Linked DNA regions of Homo sapiens: regions 1, 2 and 4 are each linked to region 3. The links are contacts of gene promoters, found by promoter capture Hi-C in blood cells and fetal thymus (Javierre and others, 2016). All regions are on one chromosome and are shown on one strand. The core of a region is centred on a gene start or on the middle of the fragment in contact, and the rest is flanking DNA. Distances in the headings are between cores, read along the strand shown. Region 1 has its middle 19 kb from the start of MIR99B. Region 2 overlaps SIGLEC5 (sialic acid binding Ig like lectin 5). Region 3 holds the start of VSIG10L (V-set and immunoglobulin domain containing 10 like). Region 4 overlaps LOC105372448 (a long non-coding RNA gene).

Region 1 (7,487 bases), core at 3,725-6,224, 330 kb before region 3:
AACATATTTTTCTCCTAATAATTGGATCAATTGGTACCTTTACTAGCTTAGTAAAGGTACCTCCTTCTCTGCCTGATGGTTTAGCATCATGACTTGCCCAAAATGGCCAAGAGGCAGCCTCTCCTTCCACTTGAAACCATAACTGGGTCCTTTAGTGGAAGTGTTTCTCCTTGAAACACTAGGACTCGCAAAGCCACCCACTCCAAAGTTGCAAATTTAGGAAGCAAAAAATTGCATAGGTGTGTGATTAGGTGGAATAAGGAAGAGGAACCAGTTCTACTGTGTCCAGAATTGGTTCCTTCCGGTGGGTTCTTGGGCTTGCTGACTTCAAGAATGAAGCCGCAAACTCTTGCAGTGAGTGTTACAGTTCTTAAAAATGGCGTGTCTAGAGTTTCTTCCTTCAGATGTTCAGATGTGTCCAGAGTTTCTCGCTTCCGGTGGGTTTGTGGTCTCACTTGACTTCAGGAGTGAAGCCACAGACCTTCGCAGTGAGTGTTACAACTCTTAAAAGTGGCAAGTCTGGAGTTGTTTTGTTCCTCCCGGTGGGTTCGTGGTCTCACCGACTTAAGGAATGAAGCCACAGACCTTCACAGAGTGTTACAGCTCATAAAGGTAGTACAGACCAAAGAGAAAGCAGCAGCAAGATTTACTGTGAAAGGCAAAAGAACAAACCCACCACAGCCTGGAATGGTACCTGAGCTGGTTGCCGGGTTGCCACGGGTGGCCAGCTTTTATTCCCTTCTTTGGCTCCACCCTCATCCTGCTGATTGGTCCATTTTACAGAGCACTGATTGGTCCATTTTACAGAGTGCTGATTGGTGCATTTTTACAGAGTGCTGATTGGCACATTTACAAACCTTTAGCTAGACACAGAGCGCTGATTGGTGTGTTTTTTACAGAGTGCTGACTGGTGCATTTACAAACCTTTAGCTAGACACAGAATGCTGATTGGTGCGTTTTTAGAGAGTGCTGATTGGTGCATTTACAAACCTTTAGCTAGACACAGAATGCTGATTAGTGCGTTTTTACAGAGTGGTGATTGGTGTGTTTACAATCCTCTAGCTAGACAGAAAAGTTCTCCAAGTCCGCACCCGACCCAGAAGCCCAGCTGGCTTCACCTCTCACTACCTCCACTGCTTGGTTTTCACATTGTGTATTCTGGCTCTGGGAGAAATGGCACTGTATATTGGTGCTGGTTTAAGGCAAATACTGTTCGATAGCACCTCACCCAACCTCACCAAATATTCACCGCCAGATGGCACTATAACTTGCCTTCAGTAGGTCATTTCATCAATACATCAAGTCACCTGCTTCTGGGTAATGAGGCCCACAGTTGTATTTTATTGGCCTTAAAATTATTTTCTTGTTTAGTGTGTGGGAACTGGAGGGGTTGTGCATTTAGCTGGCATGGTAAAAAAGATAAGGGATTCTTTTAAGGTAGCCATAGATGCTTTCTGATGTTTCTAACATATCTCTTAAGTTGGGCATGCAAGGACTCATTTATCTGTTTTTTTTTTTTTTTTTTTTTTTTTGAGAAGGAGTCTCACTCTGTTGCCCAGGCTGGAGTGCAGTGGTGCGATCTTGGCTCACTGCAACCTCCGCCTCCTGGTTCACAAGCAATTCTCCTGCCTCAGCCTCCTGAGTAGCTGGGATTACAGGTGTGTGCCACCACACCTGGCTAAATTTTGTATTTTTAGTAGAGACGGGGTTTCACCATGTAGGTCAGGCTGGTCTTGAACTCCTGACCTCGTGATCCACCCGCCTCGGCCTCCCAAAGTGCTGTGATTGCAGGCGTGAGCCACCGTGCCCAGCTATCTTTTCCTTTTTGTTTGGTCTTCAAGTTGGTCAGAGGCAGCCTGTCTGCCACACAGTCTTCATAATAACCTTTATCACCAAGGTGACTGAGTGCCACTTAATTTCCCAATGCTTTGCCCTCCACCTTCACTCTCTGTTATTTCACCATTAGTAATAATTTGAGTAATCATAACAATAAAAATGAGTAAGAGGCTTAAGTATAAGACACATGTAAAATAAGAAAATAGTAATATATTGGAATGTGCAAACTGAGTAAAGGGTTCTAATGTCCTATCTTATATTGGAGAAGCTTTAAAAGGTCACTAACTTTAGACTTTATTAACTGTGTATTATATGTTTTTTAAAGAATAACTAATAAACTTAGCAATAGAGTGCAAAACTTTTAAACTTGTGGGAAAGAAATGAACTAAGAAGAATAGAAATTACTCCAGCAGTCCAAATGTAGGCCAGAAAGAGGAAAAAAGGAATCATTGAAAAGGCAAAAAAAAAAAAAACCAAAAAAACAAAAAAAAAAAAACGCAGAACACAAAGCAGGTACAAAAATAATAGATTTAAATTCAAATATATTAGTAATTGCATTAAGTGTAATGTAAGGCTTCAGTTAAAATCAGTTTGCTAGACTGCGCCAAAAGAAATCCAACTGTATGCCATTTACAAGAGACACATCTAAAACATAGTGATACAGGAATGTCAAAGAAAAAAGATGAAAATTTATATATAATGCAGCAAATACTAACCAAAATAAACCTGGGTAGATATATTGACATCAGCTAAAGTAAAATTTATTTAGGCAAAGTGTTTAGGCAAAATACTTACCAGTAATGATGATCATATCACAATGATAATAATTTCATCAGAACATTTAAAAACCTAATTAGTATGCACTAAATAATGCAGCCTCAAAATATATAAATCCAAAGTTGTCAGAACTACAGAAAATGTCCAAATTCATAATCATAGTGGGAAATTTTTTAACATATCTCTTTCATTAATGAGTAAATTAAACATGAAAAAAGTCAGTGAAGATGAAGAAAATCTACACAACATCATCAACAAATTGACTTAAACAAAAGACAAAACAGTACACTCACAACAGCAACAATACATGCATTATTAAAGCACACACAGAATATTTGTACAACTTGATCAGAGACTGAGCCATTGAGAAAATCTCAACACAGTTTAAGGGATTTATATCACAAAAAGTATATTTTCTGATCACTTTGTTGTTAAGATGGAGATCTGAAACAAAAATATTATTGAACTCTTGAAAGGTTGAAAATTATGCCTAGGTTTTCTTCTAGGGTTTTTATGGTTTTAGGTTTAACGTTTAAATCTTTAATCCATCTTGAATTGATTTTTGTATAAGGTGTAAGGAAGGGATCCAGTTTCAGCTTTCTACATATGGCTAGCCAGTTTTCCCAGCACCATTTATTAAATAGGGAATCCTTTCCCCATTGCTTGTTTTTCTCAGGTTTGTCAAAGATCAGATAGTTGTAGATATGCGGCATTATTTCTGAGGGCTCTGTTCTGTTCCATTGATCTATATCTCTGTTTTGGTACCAGTACCATGCTGTTTTGGTTACTGTAGCCTTGTAGTATAGTTTGAAGTCAGGTAGTGTGATGCCTCCAGCTTTGTTCTTTTGGCTTAGGATTGACTTGGCAATGCGGGCTCTTTTTTGGTTCCATATGAACTTTAAAGTAGTTTTTTCCAATTCTGTGAAGAAAGTCATTGGTAGCTTGATGGGGATGGCATTGAATCTCAGGACATAGGCGTGGGCAAGGACTTCATGTCCAAAACACCAAAAGCAATGGCAACAAAAGACAAAATTGACAAATGGGATCTAATTAAACTAAAGAGCTTCTGCACAGCAAAAGAAACTACCATCAGAGTGAACAGGCAACCTACAACATGGGAGAAAATTTTCGCAACCTACTCATCTGACAAAGGGCTAATATCCAGAATCTACAATGAACTCAAACAAATTTACAAGAAAAAAACAAACAACCCCATCAAAAAGTGGGCGAAGGACATGAACAGACACTTCTCAAAAGAAGACATTTATGCAGCCAAAAAACACATGAAGAAATGCTCATCATCACTGGCCATCAGAGAAATGCAAATCAAAACCACTATGAGATATCATCTCACACCAGTTAGAATGGCAATCATTAAAAAGTCAGGAAACAACAGGTGCTGGAGAGGATGCGGAGAAATAGGAACACTTTTACACTGTTGGTGGGACTGTAAACTAGTTCAACCATTGTGGAAGTCAGTGTGGTGATTCCTCAGGGATCTAGAACTAGAAATACCATTTGACCCAGCCATCCCATTACTGGGTATATACCCAAATGAGTATAAATCATGCTGCTATAAAGACACATGCACACGTATGTTTATTGCGGCACTATTCACAATAGCAAAGACTTGGAACCAACCCAAATGTCCAACAATGATAGACTGGATTAAGAAAATGTGGCACATATACACCATGGAATACTGTGCAGCCATAAAAAATGATGAGTTCATATCCTTTGTAGGGACATGGATGAAATTGGAAACCATCATTCTCAGTAAACTATCGCAAGAACAAAAAACCAAACACCGCATATTCTCACTCATAGGTGGGAATTGAACAATGAGATCACATGGACACAGGAAGGGGAATATCACACTCTGGGGACTGTGGTGGGGTCGGGGGAGGGGGGAGGGATAGCATTGGGAGATATACCTAATGCTAGATGACACATTAGTGGGTGCAGCGCACCAGCATGGCACATGTATACATATGTAACTAACCTGCACAATGTGCACATGTTCCCTAAAACTTAGAGTATAATAAAAAAAAAAAAAAAAAAAAGAAAATTAAGAAATTTTATCCAGTATTAGAGATGGAACCTAATGGGAGATGTTTGGGTTATGGGAGTGGGTGCCTCATGAATGGCTTGGTACTGTCCTCTTGGTAATGGGTGAGTTCTTGCTCTATTAATTCTTACAAGAGCGGTTGTTAAAAAGAACCTGCCACCTGCACTGTCCCTATCTCTTGCTTTCTCTCTCCTCATGTGATCTTTGCACGTGGTGGCTCCCCTTTACCTTCTGCCATGAGTAGAAGCGGCCTGAGGCCTCACCAGAAGCAGATGCTGGTTCCATGCTTTCTATACAGCCTGCAGAACTGTGAGCCAAATACACCTCTTTTCTGTATAAATTACCCAGCATCAGGTATTGCTTTTTTAGCAAGACTAAATGGACTAAGACAGATATGAATAGCTTAAAATCATATTACTGGAATTGAAATAAGATAAACTGAATTCGATCTTTCTTCTCAAGAGATAAAAAAACTCAAGAAAGTAGACATAAGAAAATAATAAAATAAGTACTAAATAATACATGTTTTAAAATGCATACAACAGAATCAACAAAGCCCTAACTTGTTTGGTGAAAAAGTAATAAAATTGATAAACCTCTGGGGAGTCTAAATACAATGAAAAGAGAGAAGGCACATGTAACTAATGTCAGAAATAAAGGACATAACCACTGATGTTGCAGACATTGAGAATATACGATAATATTTTGAACAATTTCACATACTTTGACATTTAGATTAATGGATAAATTAATAAAAATATGTAATTTAGTATAATAGCCTCAGAAAACAAGTAGAAAACCTGAATAGTTCTAAAACTATTCGGAAGAATCAGTAGTAAAAATCATCTCACCAAGCAAACTTTAGGTCAAGATGGCTAAACTTTAAGTATACCAGCAAATTGTACCAAAACTTAAGGAAGAAATTACTCTATTCCTATTCAAACTCTTGCTCATTTTCTGTGGCTAATTATAAAATTAATACCCAAACTCAACAATATAAAAAAATAAAAGTATAGGCAAATCTTAATTAGGCATATAGTGGCACAAATATTAAGCCAGAGTTTGCAAATTAAATAGAGCTAGATATAAATATGATAATGCATCATAGCCAAGATGTGTTTATGTCAGGAATGCAAGGGTGGTTTAACATTAGAAACTCATTTAGTGTATTTATCACAAGCTCAAATACAAGAAAAAAACATAATATGACCATCCCATGGAAGGTGGAAATGAGTCTGATGAAATTCTACCTTTATCCATAACAATTCTCATCAACTGAGGAATATACAAATCCAATTAGAAAAAAAAATCAGGCAATCCAATAGCAAAATTGGCCAATCACTTCAAAAGTGACTTTACAAGAAGAAAATCCAATGAACTCCAATTGTATAAGAAAAGGTCCTCGACCTCTTTAGAGGTAGAAACCAATCAGTGTCATAGTGGATACCATTACATACTCATCAGATTGCTAAAAATGGAAAGTACCAAGGGTTGGCAAGGATGTGGGGCAATGGTAACTCTCATATTGTACACTTTTGGGAGTGTAAATTCATGCAATTGTTTGGGAAAATTTTTTAGCATTATCTACTGAAGTAGGAGATATATACACACACTTACATACAGACCATCCCTGACTTATGATGATTCAAGTTATAATTTTTCATCTTTACGATAGTGCAAAAGCCATACACATTCAGTACTCAGTATACTGAGTACACATTCAGTATAATCCCATCATACATGGAAAATATTAAGTAGAAAATTACTTCTGACTTACTATATTTTCAATTTATGACAGATTTATCAGGATGAAACTCCACCATAAGTTAAGGAGCATCTGTACACAGGCATACTGACATATATACAGAAGTTCCTCTAAGATGCATCCTCTAGAGACAGGGTTCTACTAGGAGATACCAAGATTCTTTCAGGGGGCATCTTCAAGGTCAAAACTATTTTAGTAATAATACACAGATGTTATTTGCGTTTTTCTCTGTGTTGACATTACATTGCTGGTGCAAAAGCAATGGTACATAAAAGGGCTGTAACCTTAGCCGGAAGCAAGGTAATAGCACTAAATTGTGCTAGAAAGTTGTATTCTTTATCACTTCACACTCACTGTTAAGGAAAATTCCAGCTTCATTTAAGATTGCACTTGATGAAACAGTAAAAGCTATTAATTGTGCTAAATCTCAACTCTTGAATACACTTTTTTAAAACTTTTATTTTAAGTTTGGGGTATATGTGCAGGTTTGTTGCATAGGCAAACTTGTGTCCTGGTGGTTTGTTATACAGATTACTTCATCACCCAAGTATTAAACCTAGTATTCGTTAGTTATGTTTCCTGATCCTCTCCCTCCTCCCACCCTCCACCCTCCAGTAGGCCCCAGTGTGTGTTGTTCCCCTCTATGTGTTCTCATCATTTAGCTCCCACTTACAAGGCAAGTGGATCGATGAAGTGTGGTATATCCACATAATGGAATACTATTCAGCAATGAAAAAATGAAATACAGCTATATGAATACATAGAATATTGTCATCAATGTGATATTATAAAAATTTGCAAAATCAAATGAACACATGGAATCTTGTTCCATACATGTAAATATGTAATCTTAAAAATAGCTAAAAGAAAACTATTATGCTGGGCACAGTGGCTCATGCCTGTAATCCCAGAACTTTGGGAGGCACAAGGCAGGCAGATCACCTGAGGTCAGGAGTTGGAGACCAGCCTGACCAACATGGAGAAACCCCTTCTCTACTAAAAATACAAAATTAGCTGGTCATGGTGGTGCATGCCTGTAAT
Region 2 (2,967 bases), core at 460-2,959, 270 kb before region 3:
TTGGCTACTCTGGCAGTGTTTCTTGAATGAGGGAAGGGCAGATGCTGGCCTGTGTCAGGCTTACTGAGCCAAAGAAATGACAGGGACGCCGGGCACGGTGGCTCACGCCTATAATCCCAGCACTTTGGGAGGCCGAGGTGGGCAGATCACCTGAGGTCGGGAGTTTGAGGCCAGCCCAACCAACATGGAGAAACTCCGTCTCTACTAAAAATACAAAATTAGCCAGGTGTGGTGGCACATGCCTGTAATCCCAGCTACTCGGGAGGCTGAGGCAGGGGAATCTCTTGAACCTGGGAGGTGGAGGTTGCAGTGAGCCGAGATCATGCCATTGCACTCCAGCCTGGGCAACAACAGTGAAGCATCGTCTCAAAAAAAGAGAAATGACTGGGACAAGCCCCAGGGTGGATCCCCTCAAGAACCCAAACCACACCCAACCAGTCCCACTTCCTATCACCCCAGTAAGGCAGCTTAAGTCATCCCTCCATCTTCAGACCCTCGTGGAGAAGCAACATTGGTCAAGGACTCTCGTTGCATTGTGATCCACCAGCCCTGGGAGTTTGGAGTGGAGAAAATGGCAAGGAGAATGTCAAAGACCAGTGAGCTTCCACCTCCGTTCTCCTTCTCCTCACCCCAGTGGGCCTCTGGTGCTTACCCAACACATGCCTGTTGGACACTGGCACATCATAATCCTGTCCATACTCTGAATTCTGCAGTGAGGGGCAGACAATGTTTGTCCCACTGGAAGGGTAGAGGAGAGAAAGGAGCAGAATTCAAGTATGTTTGGGCTAACCCATCCTCTCAACAAGCCAGCTGTCCCCCCGCCCAGTTCTCCCACCCCTTTTCTTCAAATGAGCCTTAACTTTCCCCTAGGGATATCAGTGTGATTGATTGATCATAAATTGATTTGTAAAGTTTTGTTCACCCAGGAGCTCCATCTTTAGTTCCATCATTGGTAGGTCTTGGAGAACAGAGCCGGTGTATGAATTCACTCTTTTGACAAGAACTATGGTAGAGAGAGCTTTGTTTTCTCCTTTATTTTACCTTTAACCATTCTGCACACTTTCATGCCATAGGCAGAATGGTAAAGCGAGGCACAGCATGGTCCCTGGAGTTTGACGTCCTGCATTCAGGTTCTAGATTCACCCACTTGCAAGCTGTGTGACCTTGGATAAGCTAATGAACCTCTCTGTTTTTTTGTTTTCTCCTATAGAAATTGGGTTATTAATATGCTAGTATCTGTCTCGGATTGTTACAAGGAGTGCTTAGTAAAGTGGCAAGCTCACAGGGAGCTCACTTATAACTGTTACCCAGTATTACTTTTCCTTCTGTCTAACAAGGAACTGCATGACGGGGAGGTATTTGGGTGGTTTCAGTCTGCTTTATGTCCTCATTTATACGAACGGCATCTAGCCCAAAGAAAGCACTCAGCAAAGAGCTATTGAGTGAAAGGGTGAACATACTGCATTGTCCTATTTACTAATCTGAGCTGTGCCTTTTCTTTCAGTTGTCAATTTCACCCTTTTTATTTCATATACCGCACACCTATTGATAGACATATGTCTTTATTTCTTCCTTTGCCTGCATAATGCTGGTGTGCATAGCCACTTTTTCATTTTATTTCATCTTTCTTGTGCCTAATATAAGCAGCTCTCTCCAGAAAGTCTATTTTTTTCTGACACAATGAAGCCATTTTTCCCTAACTGCGGAGTCCTTTTAAAAAAACTGTATGGCCAGGTGTGGTGGCTCACACCTGTAATCCCACCACTCTGGAAGGCTAAGCTGGGCCAGTCGCTTAGCCCAGGAGTTTGAGACCAACCTGGGTAACGTGGCGAAACCCTGTCTTTACAAAAATTAGCTGGGCATGGTGGCTTGTGCCTGTGGTCTCAGCTACTCAGGAAGCTGAGGTGGGAGGATTGCTTGAGCCAGGGACGGGAGGTTGCAGTGAGACGAAATCACACCACTGCCCTCCAGCCTGGATGACAGAGTGAAACTCTGTCTCAAAAAGAAAACTTCTGAGCTACTGTTTGAAGACTCACGTTGCTTTCAACATATTTTCCATAGCGTGATGGGTAGGGATATGGGTGAAGGTGGGAGAGGAAAGAAATTGCTTACTTGTATCTGGTTACCATCTTTGCTGGGGACAGGATCTGCTCCATTTTGTTTCTCTTTCATGGAAACTGGGTCCAGGATCAGAATTGCCATCTCTTTTCTGGTTTGCACATAAGACACCTTGTAACCTATGCCGAAGGTATACATTTGCTTCATCAATAATCCGCTCCTCCTGCCTAGGTCAGGGTCTATGTCTGATTTCTCACACTGTACGTGCCCAGAACCTGAAACAGGGGAGACAGGGCTGAGTTCGAATCCTGGCCTCGCCATGTATTAGATGAATAACCCTGGGCAAGCTACTTAACCTCTCTCCACCTCAGTTTCCCTGTGTGTAAGGTGGGGATAATTAGAATATCTTTTATACTGTTGTGGGTTTTTTTTTGGTGATGATTCAATGTGATTAGTAAGTCCTCAATATGGTCTGATCAATCATAGTATTACAAAATTTTGAAAGAATGAGCGAATAGTTGAGTTCACAGGAAATGTATATGGACAGGTGGGGCCGGGATTTGAACCCAGCCCTGTCTGCCCTGTGCCGGTTCCTGGGCACGTACAGTGTGAGAAATCAGACATAGACCCTGACCTAGGCAGCCTATGGCCTGTCCTTAGGAGGAGTGGATTATAAAAGGATGAATTGATAAATGTCACATCAGCCCAACTTCCCTGTGGGAACCATTTGTTGTATTTTTCTCTTATTTGGTGTTGAGGTCTCTCTTTGGGGAGTGGTCATAAAATCTAGCCCGGCCTTGAATGGGAACCCCAGAGATCTGGCCATCATGTTCACAGTGTGACTTTCACAGAATACTCCTTTATCCTGGCACACCACCTGCTGCCTGAGTGCCCAGCCTGTGACCCCCT
Region 3 (7,579 bases), core at 2,842-5,341:
CATCTCAACCTATAGGGAGGGTTCTGCGCATCATCTCAGTCTATAGGGAGGGTTCAGCACATCATCTCAGTCTATAGGGAGGGTTCAGCGCATCATCTCAACCTATAGGGAGGGTTCTGCGCATCATCTCAGCCTATAGGGAGGGTTCAGCGCATCATCTCAGTCTATAGGCAGGGTTCAGCGCATCATCTCAGCCTATAGGGAGGGTTCAGCGCATCATCTCAGCCTATAGGGAGGGTTCAGCGCATCATCTCAGCCTATAGGGAGGGTTCTGCGCATCATCTCAGTCTATAGGGAGGGTTCAGCGCATCATCTCAGCCTATAGGGAGGGTTCAGCGCATCATCTCAGCCTATAGGGAGGGTTCAGCGCATCATCTCAGCCTATAGGGAGGGTTCAGCGCATCATCTCAGCCTATAGGGAGGGTTCAGCGCATCATCTCAGCCTATAGGGAGGGTTCAGCGCATCATCTCAGTCTATAGGGAGGGTTCAGTGCATCATCTCAGCCTATTGGGAGCCTTCAGCATGCCATCTCAACCAAAAGTCCACTGAGTCATTACTACCAAAAGGATGGGTTTGCCACTCTGTTGCAGCCAGTGAAGGGCTTCCTGATTTGGTTACCTAAAGGAGGACTGCTGCAGTAGTTGGGCCTCCCAGGGCCTCCTAGCCAGCAGGAGTTGTCCACACCAGGTGTGGCCCTGTGAGAAGTTTCGCGTGTCCTGGCCAGTGGGTGGGTCCAGAGGGTTCAGCCCATGGGACTGGTCTGCAGGCCTGGCACCCATGGGAAGGAGGTGGCAGGAAGGGTGGCAGGAGTTCCACAGCCCTGTGAACAATGGCTTCCCATGTGCAGAAAGCCAAGAAGAAGAAGATCGAGGTGATCAAGCCTGGGGACCTGGGTGTGGACCTGACCTCCAAGCTCTCTGTGATCAGTGTGGAGGACCCGCCCCAGCGCACGGCCGGCGTCAAGGTGGAGACCACTGAGGACCTGGTGGCCAAGCTGAAGGAGATTGGGCGGATTTGAGCCCCTCCCAGAGATGGCAATAAAACTGACTCTCAACATCTATCTCTGTTAACTTATTTCCTAGAGACCCATTATTTGGTTCATTCAACATTTACTTGAGTCTTTTGTGTGCCAGGCCCTGTGGATCCAGTCCCTGCCCATGAGGAGCCTCTGTATTGATGCGGGGGACAATGAGGACAAAGGCAGCTGTAATTCGGGGTGAAGTATGCTAGACGTGGAGGCACACTGGGCCCTTGGGAACCCAACTGGGGGACCTGGCCTGGCCCAGCCGGTGGGGTCAGAGATTTCCCAGGGAGATGACTTCCAAGTTGAGTGTTGGAACACAAATATCAGTGAGGTGGGTGAGAAGAAGGGCTTTTATCCACGATGTTTGCAGGACACTCATTCTCTCTTGTGTCCCCAGTCTCAGCAGGGACACAGGAGAGAATGAGGCCAGAAGCTGTGGTTCTGGTGTGAGACAGACAAGCCACAGAGAATCAAAACTTAGCGTTGCAATGAACAGCCTGGGTCTACAGTCAGGTTAATTTTTTTTTAATTATGTTTTTTGAGACAGAGTCTCGCTCTGTTGCCCAGGCTTGCACCACCACACCCGGCTAATTTTTGTACTTTTAGTAGAGACGGGGTTTCACCATGTTGCCCAGGCTGTCTTGAACTCCTGACCTCAAGTGATCCGCCCGCCTCAGCCTCTCAAAGTGCTGGGATTACAAGCGTGAGCCACAGCGCCTGGACTAATTTTTTATTTAAAAAATTGTGTTCCATTCCTCTGGCCTTCTGATAGAGTCAGATATATTGATTTCATATGCTCACTCTTACCTTTGCCAGCTAGATCTTGGGTGAGTTCCTTCCTATTTTGAGTTTCAGTTGCCTCATCTGCAGATGAAAATAGTAACAGCATCATGTAGAGGTTAAGGGTATGGGTTCTGGGTCCCAGGGCCCTGGGTCAAATCCCACTGGATCCATTCCTGGATCCAGTTCAGGATCAGTTCATGTGCCTCAAATGGGGCCAGGGGATTGACTTCCAAGAGGGCTCACCCACATAGCCAGCAAGCTGGCTGGGGCTGCTGACCAGGGGCCATGATTCCCCTCCATGGGGCTGCTGATCCTCGCAGTGTGGCGGCTGGATTCCATGAGGGAGTGTCCTATGATACAGAAAGTGGCATATGCCGGCCTAGATGCAGATCCTGGCACAGGGCCACTTCCACGTCTTGGTCCAGCAGTCACACAGCTACTCAGATCCAAGCAGAGGGGACATAGACCCCGCATCTTAACAGGAGGACGCTCAAATTTGCAGCCCTCTTTAAGCTACATCATCTACTCCATGGAGTTTTGAAAGGTTAATTTATGTAGCACCCCCATAACCACACCTGCTATGCAAAAAATGCTAAATATATATTATTACCAATATTAGTCCGGGCACGGTGGCTCACGCCTGTAATCCCAACACTGGGAGGCTGAGGCGGGCAGATCACTTGAGGTCAGGAGTTCATGATAAGCCTGGCCAACATGGCAAAACCCCATCTCTCCTAAAAATAACAAAAATTAGCCTGGTGTGGTGATGCACACCTATACTCCCAGCTGCTGCAGAGGCTGAGACGGGAGAATCACTTGAACCCGGGAGATGGAGCCTGCAGTGAGCTGAGGCACTCACTGGGTGACAGAACGAGACTCCATCTCAAAATATATATATATTACCAGTATTATTACTGGTGAGAACTGGGCCAGGGTAAGCTTAGAGGACTGGGAGCTGAGCAGAGGCCCTAAGCTCCACATGGGATGGTGGGAAAAGCTATCAGAAGGAGTCAATGGTCTGACCATCCTGGTCCCAAGTCCAGCTTCTCCCTCTGGCTGTGCAACCTCCTGCAGGTCCCTTGACCTCTCTGAGCCTAAGTCCCCTGGCCTGCAAAGTGAGTATAATGACACTCAGCTTATAGGGTGTTTAGAAGTGTTCAGCCTGATAGTGCATAGGAAACATTTAGCGTAGTTCCTGGCTCAAATTAAGTGGTAATTATGGTTCTTAATAAGGTGAGACCTGAAGGACAAGTTGTGGTTTAGCCAGGTTGGAGGGAGGTGGAGAGTGGGAGAGAGCATTCCAGGTAGAGGACTGGGAGGTGAGATGGGCGGGCAGGATAAGAATGGCAGGATGTTCAAGTGCTTGAGTGGGGGCTGTGCATGAGTTTGCTTTGAACCTTGGATGTCTCCAGAGGGCACTGGGGAGCCAGGGGAGGGCTGTGAGCAGGGGGAGGCAGGTTCAGCTCTGGGTATAGAAGGACCCTGGCAGGGAATGGAGGAGACTGGGCAGAGGAGGGAGACGGGGCAGGAAGAGAAGACAGAGCCTGGCCAGTGAGAACTAGGGGGAGGAGGGTTGGACTCAGATCGACAGTGGTGACAGGGAGGGAGGAGGTGGGAATGTTCTCCAGCATTTGCGAAGACAGTGAAGCCATCCTGGAGGTGTGAGGAAGTTTGGGTTAGAGGAAAGAGTCTGAGTTTAGCGGGACACAGGCCATGTGAGGGCCTCGGGGATGCGGAAATGCAGCTCTGGTCTCAGGATAGAGGCCCTGGCAGGAGATAGCACCTGGAGACTTGGTTCTGAGGGCAACAGAGAGCCGTGGGAGGGTTTGGAGCAGAGGAGGAGCAGGGTCAGATGTATCTGAGGCTGCAGGCAAGACAGAGTGGAAGGAGCCAGGAGGCTGGGGAGGAGGAAGCCTGCTCTGAAGCTGTGGCCATCAGAGGTGGGGCTCTCGGAAAGGTCACCTCACCCTCCTCCAGGAAGTCTTCCTGGCTTTGTCTCACAAATTTGCTCCCACATTTTTAGCTGGGAATGTTTTCTCCAGCTTCCCCCTGGGGGTGGGGAGGGCAGGGATCAGGCTGGGCCTCTCTGCAGATGGGACCAGCTAATGAAGAGAGTGGGATGAGGTGGGCAGCTCAGCCACCACACTGGGGTTGAGGATCTTGGCACCTCCCTCTGGGTCTGGCTCCCTTCCCCTCCCAGGAAGCTAAGCTACCAGTCCTGTTGGACTCGTCTGACCCGGGAGGGATGGGTGCAGTCCTGGGTCTCTCTCCAGTGTCCTTTCAGTGAGGCCAGCACCATGGACAACCCACAGGCTCTGCCACTCTTCCTACTCCTGGGTAAGTTCCCTGCTCAGTCCCTTCCCTGTCAGTCTCCCTCAGCAGCCTCCCCCAATGCCTTCCTCTCTTCTCTGCAGCCTCCTTGGTAGGGATCCTCACCCTCAGAGCCTCTTCTGGACTTCAGCAAACCAACTTCTCCTCTGCCTTCTCTTCAGACTCAAAGAGCTCTTCCCAGGGGCTGGGTGTGGAAGTTCCCTCCATCAAACCTCCCAGCTGGAAAGTTCCAGATCAGTTCCTGGATTCAAAAGCCTCTGCTGGAATCTCTGATTCCAGCTGGTTTCCTGAGGCCCTGAGTTCCAACATGTCTGGGTCCTTCTGGTCAAATGTTTCTGCTGAGGGCCAAGATTTGAGCCCGGTTTCCCCCTTCTCTGAAACCCCTGGTTCTGAAGTATTTCCTGATATTTCGGATCCTCAAGTTCCTGCCAAAGACCCCAAGCCTTCCTTCACTGTTAAGACCCCAGCTTCAAACATTTCTACTCAAGTCTCCCATACCAAACTGTCTGTTGAGGCCCCAGATTCAAAATTCTCCCCGGATGATATGGATCTTAAACTCTCTGCCCAGAGCCCTGAATCCAAATTTTCTGCAGAGACCCACTCAGCTGCAAGCTTTCCCCAGCAGGTGGGGGGCCCACTCGCTGTGCTGGTGGGGACCACCATCCGGCTCCCCCTAGTCCCAATCCCCAACCCTGGGCCCCCCACCTCTCTGGTGGTCTGGCGCCGGGGCTCAAAGGTGCTGGCAGCTGGGGGCCTGGGGCCAGGGGCACCTCTGATCAGCCTGGACCCTGCTCACCGAGACCACCTGCGATTTGACCAGGCCCGGGGGGTTCTGGAGCTCGCCTCTGCCCAGCTGGACGATGCAGGGGTCTACACGGCTGAGGTCATCCGGGCAGGGGTCTCCCAGCAGACTCACGAGTTCACGGTGGGTGTGTATGGTAAGTGGGCCCTGGCGTCCGGCGTGCAGGCGGCAGGGGCTGCTCTGCTCTGCCAGGCTTTGGGCAAGTCACGGTGCTGTGGGGTCCCTGGATAGGAGAAGAGGACTTCTGGGTTGAGGAAGGGAGAAAAAGAGCTAGAGGTCAAGGCAGGGGTGTCTGAGCAAAGGTGGACCTGGGATGGAGACTCCTGGGAGCCTGAACTCCCAGGTCTGAGGGAGGAGGAGGAGGCTAGGAGCCTCTTCTGGCGAACTCCTGGGTCCCGGAGAGGAGGTGTCTGGGGGCTCAAACTCATAGGTTTATGAGAGGAGAGGGATGGGGGCTGAGACTCCAGGGGCTTAGAGGGAGCAGCGGCTGGGGTTCCCTCTAAGGGGACCAAAGATGGGCTCCAGGACTGGGTGGGTCCTGAGCCCATTCTCCCTCTCCCAGAGCCCCTACCCCAGCTGTCGGTTCAGCCCAAGGCTCCAGAGACAGAGGAGGGGGCGGCCGAGCTCCGGCTGCGCTGCCTGGGGTGGGGGCCAGGTCGCGGGGAGCTGAGCTGGAGCCGGGACGGACGCGCCCTGGAGGCGGCGGAATCGGAGGGAGCCGAGACGCCCCGGATGCGCTCAGAGGGCGACCAGCTGCTCATCGTGCGCCCTGTGCGCAGCGACCACGCCCGGTACACTTGCCGCGTCCGCAGCCCCTTCGGCCACAGGGAGGCTGCCGCCGACGTCAGCGTCTTCTGTGAGTGGGGGATGCCTCGGGTCGGGGACAGGGGGTCCTTGGGGAGAAGCGGGCTGGGGACCCAGTCTCCGGGAGTCCTAGCGGCGTCCCAGGTGACCCTGACACTCGCGGTCCCGACCCCTCCTCCCTCCAGACGGCCCGGACCCGCCGACCATCACGGTCTCCTCGGACCGCGACGCCGCGCCTGCCCGCTTTGTCACCGCGGGCAGTAACGTGACCTTGCGCTGCGCCGCCGCCTCGCGGCCGCCCGCCGACATCACGTGGAGCCTGGCGGACCCGGCCGAGGCCGCGGTGCCCGCGGGGTCGCGCCTCCTGCTGCCCGCGGTCGGACCGGGCCACGCAGGCACCTACGCCTGCCTGGCGGCGAACCCGCGTACCGGCCGCCGCCGCCGCTCGCTGCTCAACCTTACAGTGGCGGGTGAGAGGCTGGAGCGGGAGTAGGGGAATGCCTGGGAGAGGGGCGGGGCCAGAACGAGGGCGGGGCTAGAGGAAAGGGGCGGGGCCAGCAAGGAGGAGCAGCATACCGGTGGGTGGGGCAGGGCCAGCGGGAGGGCGGGTCACCAAGAAGGAGCTGGGATACCCGTGGTGGGGCGGGCCAGCGCGGAGGGGCGGAGACACCTAGGATAAGAGGCGGGGCCAGAAAGAGGATAAGGGAAGGAGCCAAATAGAGTGGCAGGGATGACCAGGACTGACGGGCCGGCCCAGCACTGAGAGGGCGGACATTCCTGGGCATGGAACACTCGACAAAGTCGACAAGCGGAGTTAAATGGCAAAGAGTGGGAGTTAGAAAAGGAAAGAACTAATTTGCTTAAGTGGGATCAGCAAAGGGAGAAGTTACCTGGCAAGGGGGGCGGAGTCACCAGGGAAAGGGGCGAGGTCATTTAGAAAGCGGGCAGAATTGTCTTAGAAAGGGGAAGGGGTCCACAAGGAAGGGCGGAGATATCTGGGAAAAGGGGAGGCTTCTCGGAGTGCAATCCAGGAGGGGGCGAAGTAACCTGGCAGAAGTGGGTGGAGCTGGAAAGGAAGGGGCTGAGTTACGTTTGGGAAGAGAAATATCATTGTGTGAAGATGCAGTTTTCTTAAGAAAGTTGGGCAGTCAGCAGGGCTGCGGGCTACCCACTTAGCGAGGAAGTTAATGGGAAAAGGGAACGGGATCGCAGGAAAAGTGGGGAGTGTGAGCGCCTATGGGGTGGGGCTAGTGAAGAAGGGTGGAGTCACCGCGCGGGGAGGCGGGGCTGGAGAAGAAATGAGAAAGGGACTCCATCTTCATTCTCTCCCTTCTCTCCGCAGACCTGCCCCCCGGGGCCCCACAGTGCTCAGTTGAAGGGGGTCCCGGGGACCGCAGCCTCCGCTTCCGCTGCTCGTGGCCCGGCGGGGCCCCTGCTGCCTCCCTGCAGTTCCAGGGTCTCCCCGAAGGCATCCGCGCCGGGCCAGTGTCCTCTGTGCTGCTGGCGGCCGTCCCCGCCCACCCCCGGCTCAGCGGCGTCCCCATCACCTGCCTTGCTCGCCACCTGGTGGCCACGCGTACCTGCACAGTCACGCCGGGTGAGAGGGCGCGGGGCTTTTTTGCTGTTTCTCGAGGAGGAGGGAGACTTTTTCTTTGGTCCTTCGAAAATTCTGAAGGGGTATGGGGTACGTCCTTAGTCCAAGAAAGAGGCAGGACTTCACTGTCTTCAAACTAGAAAAGGGACAAAGATTTTCCTATACCTCATGGTGGCGGGGTGCAGGGATGGGGGTATTTTTCTGGACACAGGAAGAAGGCCATCACTTTCACACGTGTTC
Region 4 (6,969 bases), core at 3,372-5,871, 440 kb before region 3:
TCTTAAAATTTCTCAATTTTTTGTTTCAGGCTCATTCATATTATAAAGTTTAGTCTGCTTTACTTAAAGTCAGTTGGTAGTAAATGTTCATCATATCTGAAAAGAAATTCACTGCAACATCTATAATAATTTTTGATGAGGAGGACACTATAGCCTAGCCGCATTGACACACAAAGCTAACCCTCACAGTCCATTCTTGTCATCCAGTCACCCATACACGTTTCCTTAAATCATGTTTATTTTCCAAAGAAAGGTAAGAACAAAGTCCTCCTTCCTCCTAACATGATACACCTATCTTCCTTATAGCCAAAAATGCACTGACTCTTTCTCCAGAAGAGGATGCAGAGTCCTTGGGTGATGTTTCTTCTTCTCCTCCTTCTCCTTCGTCTTCCTCTTCCCCTTCCCCTCCTCCTCCTCCTATACTTCTCCTCCTCCTCCTCTTCCTCTTCCTCTTCTTCTTTTTCTTTGTCCAGGCTGCAGTGCAGTGGTGCAATGTCACCTCACTGCAACCTCCGCATCCTGAGTTCAAGGGATTCTCCTGCCTCAGCATCCCAAGTAGCTGGGATTATAGGTGCACAGCACCACACCAGGCTACTTTTTATGTTTTTAGTGGAGACGGGGTTTTATCACATTGGCCAGGCTGTTCTCAAACTACTGACCTCAAGTGACCTACCCGCCTTGGCCTCCCAAAGTGCTGGGATTATAGGCGTGAGCCACCACACCCAGCCTTCTCTCTTCTTTTTGATCTCCTCTAATATAAACACCATGATTTAAAATTACCTATTATTAATACATTTTATGTTATGTGATAATGAGACAAAAGAGGAAAGAAAACAAAAATTTTTGAAACACACAAATTTGTTCATGACAAAATAAGAAATATTCATTAAAATGATAGTCTTCACTTCTGTAACTGATTCTGCGATCATGGTAGTATTTATAACTACCATCTTTCACTCCTCAATCCATTTTCCATTTTCCCTCAACTAGTACCTCAGTTGGTCATCATCTGTGCCTAGTGGGGAAACCCAAACCTTCATTCCTGAAAGATCTGGGGCATTACAGTCCTGCTTGATAGAGCTGTGGTTTTACATGGACTTTAATAACAAAACAAGGTGGTACTCAGAGCTGCCCTAATGGGTCTGTCATATTCCAGACATGTTCTTCATTATCTCTATATAATATAGTAGCATACCAATTTCCTTCTTAGTAGCCAGGATCAGTCACCCCATCCATACAGTAACTCCCTTCTTTGCCTGCTGATTCAGAGCAAGAGGAGCCCAAAGTAGTGATGGGCAGTGGTACCTTCCAGTTCAGTAGAAACATTGTTGTGTCGCTGGGTGGATACATTTCTTCCTTTGGAACCAAGACCTCTGAGCCAACACAGCATAAGGTCATGAGGATGGGAAGCAGAAATTTTTCTAGTGGATCACTAAAGGTAATAATGAGTGATACAATTCCCATTTCTACCCCTTCATTCCTGGATCCTTGGATTCTAGTTATGGGAGAGAGAGCACCATACACTGAGTGCTGATTTAGAGTATGTATAGCTTCCTAAAGGATATTGCTCCAGCCCTGCAAGGTATTGCCTGCTAGCTGGTACTTGGGTAAGTCTTCAAAAGGTCATCCTACCATTCCTTCAAGCCGGCTACTCAAAATGGACAATATGGTAGGACCAGTGAATTCCAGAGTGTGGACCCATTGCCACAGTTTATTTGCTGTGAATTTAATCCCACAATCAAACCAATGCTGTATGGAATGCCATGATGATGGACAAGGCATTCTGTAAGTCCACAGATGATAGTTTTGGCAGAAGCATTATGTACAGAGAAAGCACATTCATGTTCAGAGTTAACATCTATCCCGATAAAAACGAGGCTCTGCTTCTCCCACAAGGGAAGTGGTCCAGTGTGTTCAACCTGCCACTGGGGAGCTGGGTGATTACCCAGGGAATGGTGCCATATCAGGGACTCAGTGTCCATCTCTGCTGTGGGCAGATTGGGCACTCAGCAGTGAGTGTAGCCAGATTGGCCTTGGCAAGTCAAAGTCCATGTTGCTGATCCCAGGAACAGCTTCTGTTCCTGCCACTGAAACTGTAGAAGCAGGAAACATGTTAGAATGATCAAGGATAGAAACTAGATTTCTCTGAATGTATCTACTTCCTCTTATGGTTTTTTGACTGTAACAAGAACGGGATAGGAGGTGCCAACTGGGAAGAAATTGTACTTGATGTACAACAGCATAACCTATATAAATTTTTAAAATCTTGCCCTTTCTTAAAACTGGGCTTGAAATTACATTCCTATTCCCATAGTCTAGATACCCATCGTGACTGGTAAAATGTTTACCGTGATTTGACTATCTAGAATGATCTCTAGAGACAGTGGCAGACTATATTTTCCACTGATATCTATGTTACATATTTATCTCATCCCACATGTTGTCTGTACAGGTAATTCACACTCCTCCCACTCCTTCCACAGAGAAGTGAGGATTTTTTCCCCCTCCTCTTCAATCTGGACCAGGACTTGTGACTGCCCTGACCAATGGAGTATGGCAGAAGTAATGCTATATCCCTTCCAAGTGTAGTTCATAAAAAGAATGAAACTTCCATTTAACGCTTTCCCCCTCAGATCACTCATCCTGGGAGATACCATCAGCCACGTTATGAGACTACTCCAGCAGTTCTGTGGTGAGGAAGCAACTTTCCAGCAACAACTCATTATCTATGGGATTATGTCACCTGGAAGTGAATTTTCTAGCCTCAGTCAAGCCTTCAGATAATTGCAGCCTCAGCTCACATCTGACTACAAACTCATGAGAGATTTCAATCCAGAAACACTCAAGCCAGAAACTTCCAAATTCCTGACCCAGAGAAATTGTAACAGATAGTAAATTAGATTACTATTGTTTTAAGCCATGTTTTGAGGGTGATTTGCCTGCAGCAATAGATAACTAACACAGGGACAACCTGGTATAATATTAGCTCAAGTGTGACTTAGAATAGGTGAAACATTATGAATTGCCAGGAGTTTTATCAACCAGCAAGCCTCCCAACTCTGTGTGGGTCTCACAAAATCTCCATCATTAGTAGTTAATTCTTTGACTCTATCTTCCAAACTTTATGCCTAGATTGCCATTTCAACTGGAAGAGAACACACTGGGCAAGAGGAACCATTGAGCACCTACTTCCCTACAAATTGGGACAGGAAGTTAGTGTTAGGACCTGAGGGAGGGAGAGTAAGGGACATAGTTTTTGGAGGCGATATTGGCTCTTTTTGTATCAGAGGTTGTCCTTCCTCTTTCACTGTGTTTCTCAGTAACTGTTATGTGCTTTGTGTGTACATACAAAAATCAGATCCAGATTTAGTTGGTTTGCTATTTGTGGTAAGAATTGAGGTGTAAAGGGCATGGGGGACTTTTTTCTGATAAATTATTAATTCTGTTCACTGTTGCTGAGAACCTCTTCTTTCAGAAGAACAAAGTATTGACAGCTTAGCTTGTCCACACCTGTGATTTCACGATCACAGCCTCACTCTCCAAATTTGCTTTCCTAACTAGGACTTCTCCCCATGTTTCCCTCCCAATGGCTGTGTTACCACCGCATATAAAAAAGACCATTTGTTCTATGGTGTGGACCATAAAGATATATCCGTGTTTCCAAGAGGTAATATTAGTTCTAATTCTCATGGTCTAATATTAGTTCTTATTATGTCCTCTAGTTAAAAGAGTATTTATTCAACTGCTAGAAAGCAGGGGAATCATTGCTGGGCGCAGTGGCTCACACAGAAATAAGCCCCGTGTGGTGGCATGTTCCTGTGGTCCCACCTACTCGGGAGACAGAGGTGGGATGATCGCTTGAGCTGGTGAGGTTGAGGCTTCAGTGAGCTATGATTGCACCACTGCACTCCAGCCTTGACCATAGAGCAAGACCCTGACTCAAAAACAAAACAAAACAAAAAAAGAAAACAGGGGAATCTGATTGCACATTACAATTTACCAGGGAATACCTAAAGGGAACAAAGTTAATCTGTGATTAAACACAGATTATTGTGCTCTGCTCCAAACTTTATAAATCAAGATGCTTTGATGTTGCAGTGACCTAACCCATATTAAAACAAACAAACAAACAAACAAACACCTCCCCAATTGACTCTGATGAAACAGCATCAGTGTAGGTCAACATTCGGGACGCAGTTAACTAGATGGTGTTTGGAGCCGCAGGAGGCATGAGATGGAAAGATAGAATGGAATCACAGTTGAACAGTCGCCAGCATCCTAAGCATTTACATGGACTTTCTTTCGTCTAATGGCACTGGTAACTCATAGAATGGGATGAGATACAGGAGAGATCTCTAGCCTCCACCGTCTCTGGAATGTACATTTTGGAATGAAGGGGACTTTCTGCATTGAAAGAACAAAGTTACTTGTACAGATGTGCTTAGAAATGTATTCTGGGCGAGCTAGCCCACAAATAATCAAGCTTTCCAAGGGTTATCTCCCAATGCGGTCACAGAACTGAGTGAAGCAAGAGTTGCATTTCCTTGTGTTTTCTTTTAGCTGCCACAAGAGGGAGCTCGATGTCTAATGAGTTCGTTTTCACGAGCCCAGGAGACCCGAGCCAGTCATGCCGGGGATGGCTTCCTCCTGCTGCCTTTGACCCTCCCTGTCCTAGCAAGTATGAATTTAGAGAATTGCAGCACCTATATGAAAGGTGTCCTGCTTCAAGCAGCCTAATTTCAGGAGCTATGAAGCTTTACTGGTATAAAGAAAAGGGGACCCGAATTCGATTGACTTATTTTTCGTTTTTTCCTCTTTTATTTGAAACAAGGTCTCGCTGTGTCACCCAGGCTGGAGTGCAGTGCCACAATCATAGCTCACTGCCGCCTTCGCCTCCCGGGCTCAAGCTATCCTCCCACCTCAGCCCCAGTCCTTCAGCTGGATCTACAGGCACGCACCACCAAGCCCAGGTAATTTTTGTATTTTCAGTAGAGACGAGGTCTCACTATGTTTCCCAGGCTGGTCTCGAACTCCTGGGCCCAAGCAATTCGCCCACCTCGGCCTCCCAAAGTGGTGGGGTTACAGGCATGAGCCGCTACATCCAGCTGACTTATTTCTCTTAGCTTTTAAAATGTGGACTATAACAACCACCCCACACACAAACACACACAATGAGAAAAAGATAAACGTGAAGATTAATATATTTGTGTAAAACAAAATGCTCATGTACTCCCACTCATGTCAAGAAATAGATCACTATTTGTTTTTCAGAAAAGTTGTCTTCCTAAGATGTGGCAATGGGCTTTATAGCTCTGATAGTAGATAAGAGCAGAGAAATCAACTAAATTACAAACGATCTTTTTTAGTATTACTTTTTTTAATTTTTAATTTTTGTCGGTACATAGTACATAGTAGTTGTATATATTTATGGGGTACATGAGATACTTTGATATCAGGCATGCAATGTGTAATAATCACATCATAGAAAATAGAGTATCCATTCCCTCAAATATTCGTCCTTTGGATTATAAAGAATCCAGTTATACTCTTTTAGTTTTTAAAAAATATATAATTAACTTATCATTGACTATATTCACTCTATTGTGCCTTTGAATACTAGGTTTCATTCATTCTTTCTGTTCTTTTTGTACGCATTAACCATCCCCACTTCTCCCCCGACTCCTGCCACCCTTCCCAATTTCTGGTAACCATCCTTCTATTCTCTATCTCCATGAGTTCAATTGTTTTGATTTTTAGCTCCCACAAATAAGTGAGAACATACAAAGTTTGTCTTTCTGTGCCTGATCCATTTCACTTAACATAATGACCTCCAGTTCCATCCATGTTGTTGCAAATGACAGAGTCTCATTATTTTTCATGGCAGAATAGTACTCCATTATGTATATGAACAATTTTTTTTTGTTCATTCATCTGTTGATAGACACTTAGGTTACAAACTATTGTAATTTTTTTCTATAGACAAACACACAGTCATGCAAAGGAATGTGTGTGTGCACAGGTATTCATTGTAGCTTTTTTTTTGTAATGAGCAAAAGATCAAAAGCAATTTGGTCAGATTAAATTTTGTTACATTCATCCAATAAAATACAATGCAAAAATTAAAAAGAATGAGGAACTTTGAGAATACAGACACAGAAGGAGGACTTTCTAACTCATGATAAATCCACGATCACCCTAATAACCAAATCCATTTAAAGACATTACAAGAAAACAAAACTACAGACCAATAACTCTCATGAACATAGATGCAAAAATTCTCAAAAACATATTAGGAAATCAAACCCAAAAATGTCTAAACTACTATAATGTAATGTATAAAACAAAGTATAAAAATTATTCATGCCAGGTATGCAAGTCTAGTTCAAATTTCAAAAATTAATTAATGTAATCAATTACATCAACAGACTAATGAAAAAACCACATAGTTATATCAGTAGAAGCAGAAAAAGTATTTGACAAAATTCAACACTCATTCATAATTTTTAAAAATGCTCAGTAACCTGGGAATAAAGAGGAACTTCCTCAATCTGATAAACAATGCCTACAAAAAATCCTACAGCTAACATTATACTTAACAGTGGGAAACTTGACGCTTTCCCAGTAAGGCCAGGAACAAGGCAAGGACGTCTTCTCTCATATTGGTTTTCAGCATTGCTGAAGTCTTAGCTAATTCAATTAAAAACAAACTAAAAAGGTATGCATATTGGAAAGGAAGAAAAAAAAACTATTTTGTTCACAACTGACATGATCATCTATGCAGAAAATCCAAAAGATTGGATAACAAACATTCCTGGAAGTAATAAGTGATTATAGCAGGGTTGCAGAGTACAAAAAAATCAATCACTTTCCTAGATACCAACAGTGAGCAAATGGAATTTGAAATTAAAAACACAATACTATTTACATTATGTCCCTCAGAAATGAAACACTGAGTAAAAATCTAACAAA

What was found. The method cuts DNA at HindIII sites, captures the fragments that hold promoters and counts their contacts. A CHiCAGO score of 5 or more calls a contact.
Region 1: a contact is called between a fragment that was not itself captured here and the fragment with the promoter of VSIG10L in region 3, in 5 of 17 cell types (naive B cells, total B cells, erythroblasts and 2 more). The highest score is 7.8, in naive B cells.
Region 2: a contact is called between a fragment that was not itself captured here and the fragment with the promoter of VSIG10L in region 3, in 5 of 17 cell types (naive B cells, total B cells, megakaryocytes and 2 more). The highest score is 8.2, in naive B cells.
Region 4: a contact is called between a fragment that was not itself captured here and the fragment with the promoter of VSIG10L in region 3, in 7 of 17 cell types (naive B cells, total B cells, activated CD4 T cells and 4 more). The highest score is 10.6, in naive B cells.

What each region holds. Positions count from the first base shown.
Region 1 is chr19:51,669,874-51,677,360 of GRCh38, reverse strand. No RefSeq gene overlaps it. Among named protein-coding and RNA genes, the nearest start is that of MIR99B, 19 kb to the left of the region's middle. The HindIII fragment of the contact is 5,735 bases long and covers 2,107-7,487 here.
Region 2 is chr19:51,613,195-51,616,161 of GRCh38, reverse strand. All of the region lies in intron 8 of SIGLEC5 (sialic acid binding Ig like lectin 5), which reads left to right. LOC124904753 (a long non-coding RNA gene) reads right to left here. Exons shown (of 3, transcript XR_007067313.1): 2 at 2,113-2,333; 3 at 446-738. Among named protein-coding and RNA genes, the nearest start is that of SIGLEC5, 16 kb to the left of the region's middle. RefSeq lists a silencer at 346-495. The HindIII fragment of the contact is 7,305 bases long and covers 1-2,967 here.
Region 3 is chr19:51,338,651-51,346,229 of GRCh38, reverse strand. It overlaps VSIG10L (V-set and immunoglobulin domain containing 10 like), which reads left to right and starts at 4,091. Exons shown (of 10, transcript NM_001163922.3): 1 at 4,091-4,145; 2 at 4,223-5,077; 3 at 5,504-5,797; 4 at 5,931-6,215; 5 at 7,088-7,342. The coding sequence starts at 4,106. VSIG10L-AS1 (VSIG10L antisense RNA 1) reads right to left here and starts at 6,210. Exons shown (of 5, transcript NR_186316.1): 1 at 5,513-6,210; 2 at 5,056-5,164; 3 at 4,245-4,380; 4 at 2,419-2,542; 5 at 1,535-2,158. ETFB (electron transfer flavoprotein subunit beta) reads left to right here. Exons shown (of 6, transcript NM_001985.3): 6 at 849-1,061. The coding sequence ends at 1,019. RefSeq lists enhancers at 1,549-1,648, 1,779-1,868 and silencers at 6,057-6,326, 6,977-7,316. The HindIII fragment of the contact is 2,004 bases long and covers 2,750-4,753 here.
Region 4 is chr19:51,775,646-51,782,614 of GRCh38, reverse strand. LOC105372448 (a long non-coding RNA gene) reads left to right here. Exons shown (of 3, transcript XR_936049.2): 2 at 1,269-1,438; 3 at 2,634-2,916. Among named protein-coding and RNA genes, the nearest start is that of FPR3, 16 kb to the left of the region's middle. RefSeq lists a silencer at 4,505-4,799. The HindIII fragment of the contact is 271 bases long and covers 4,486-4,756 here.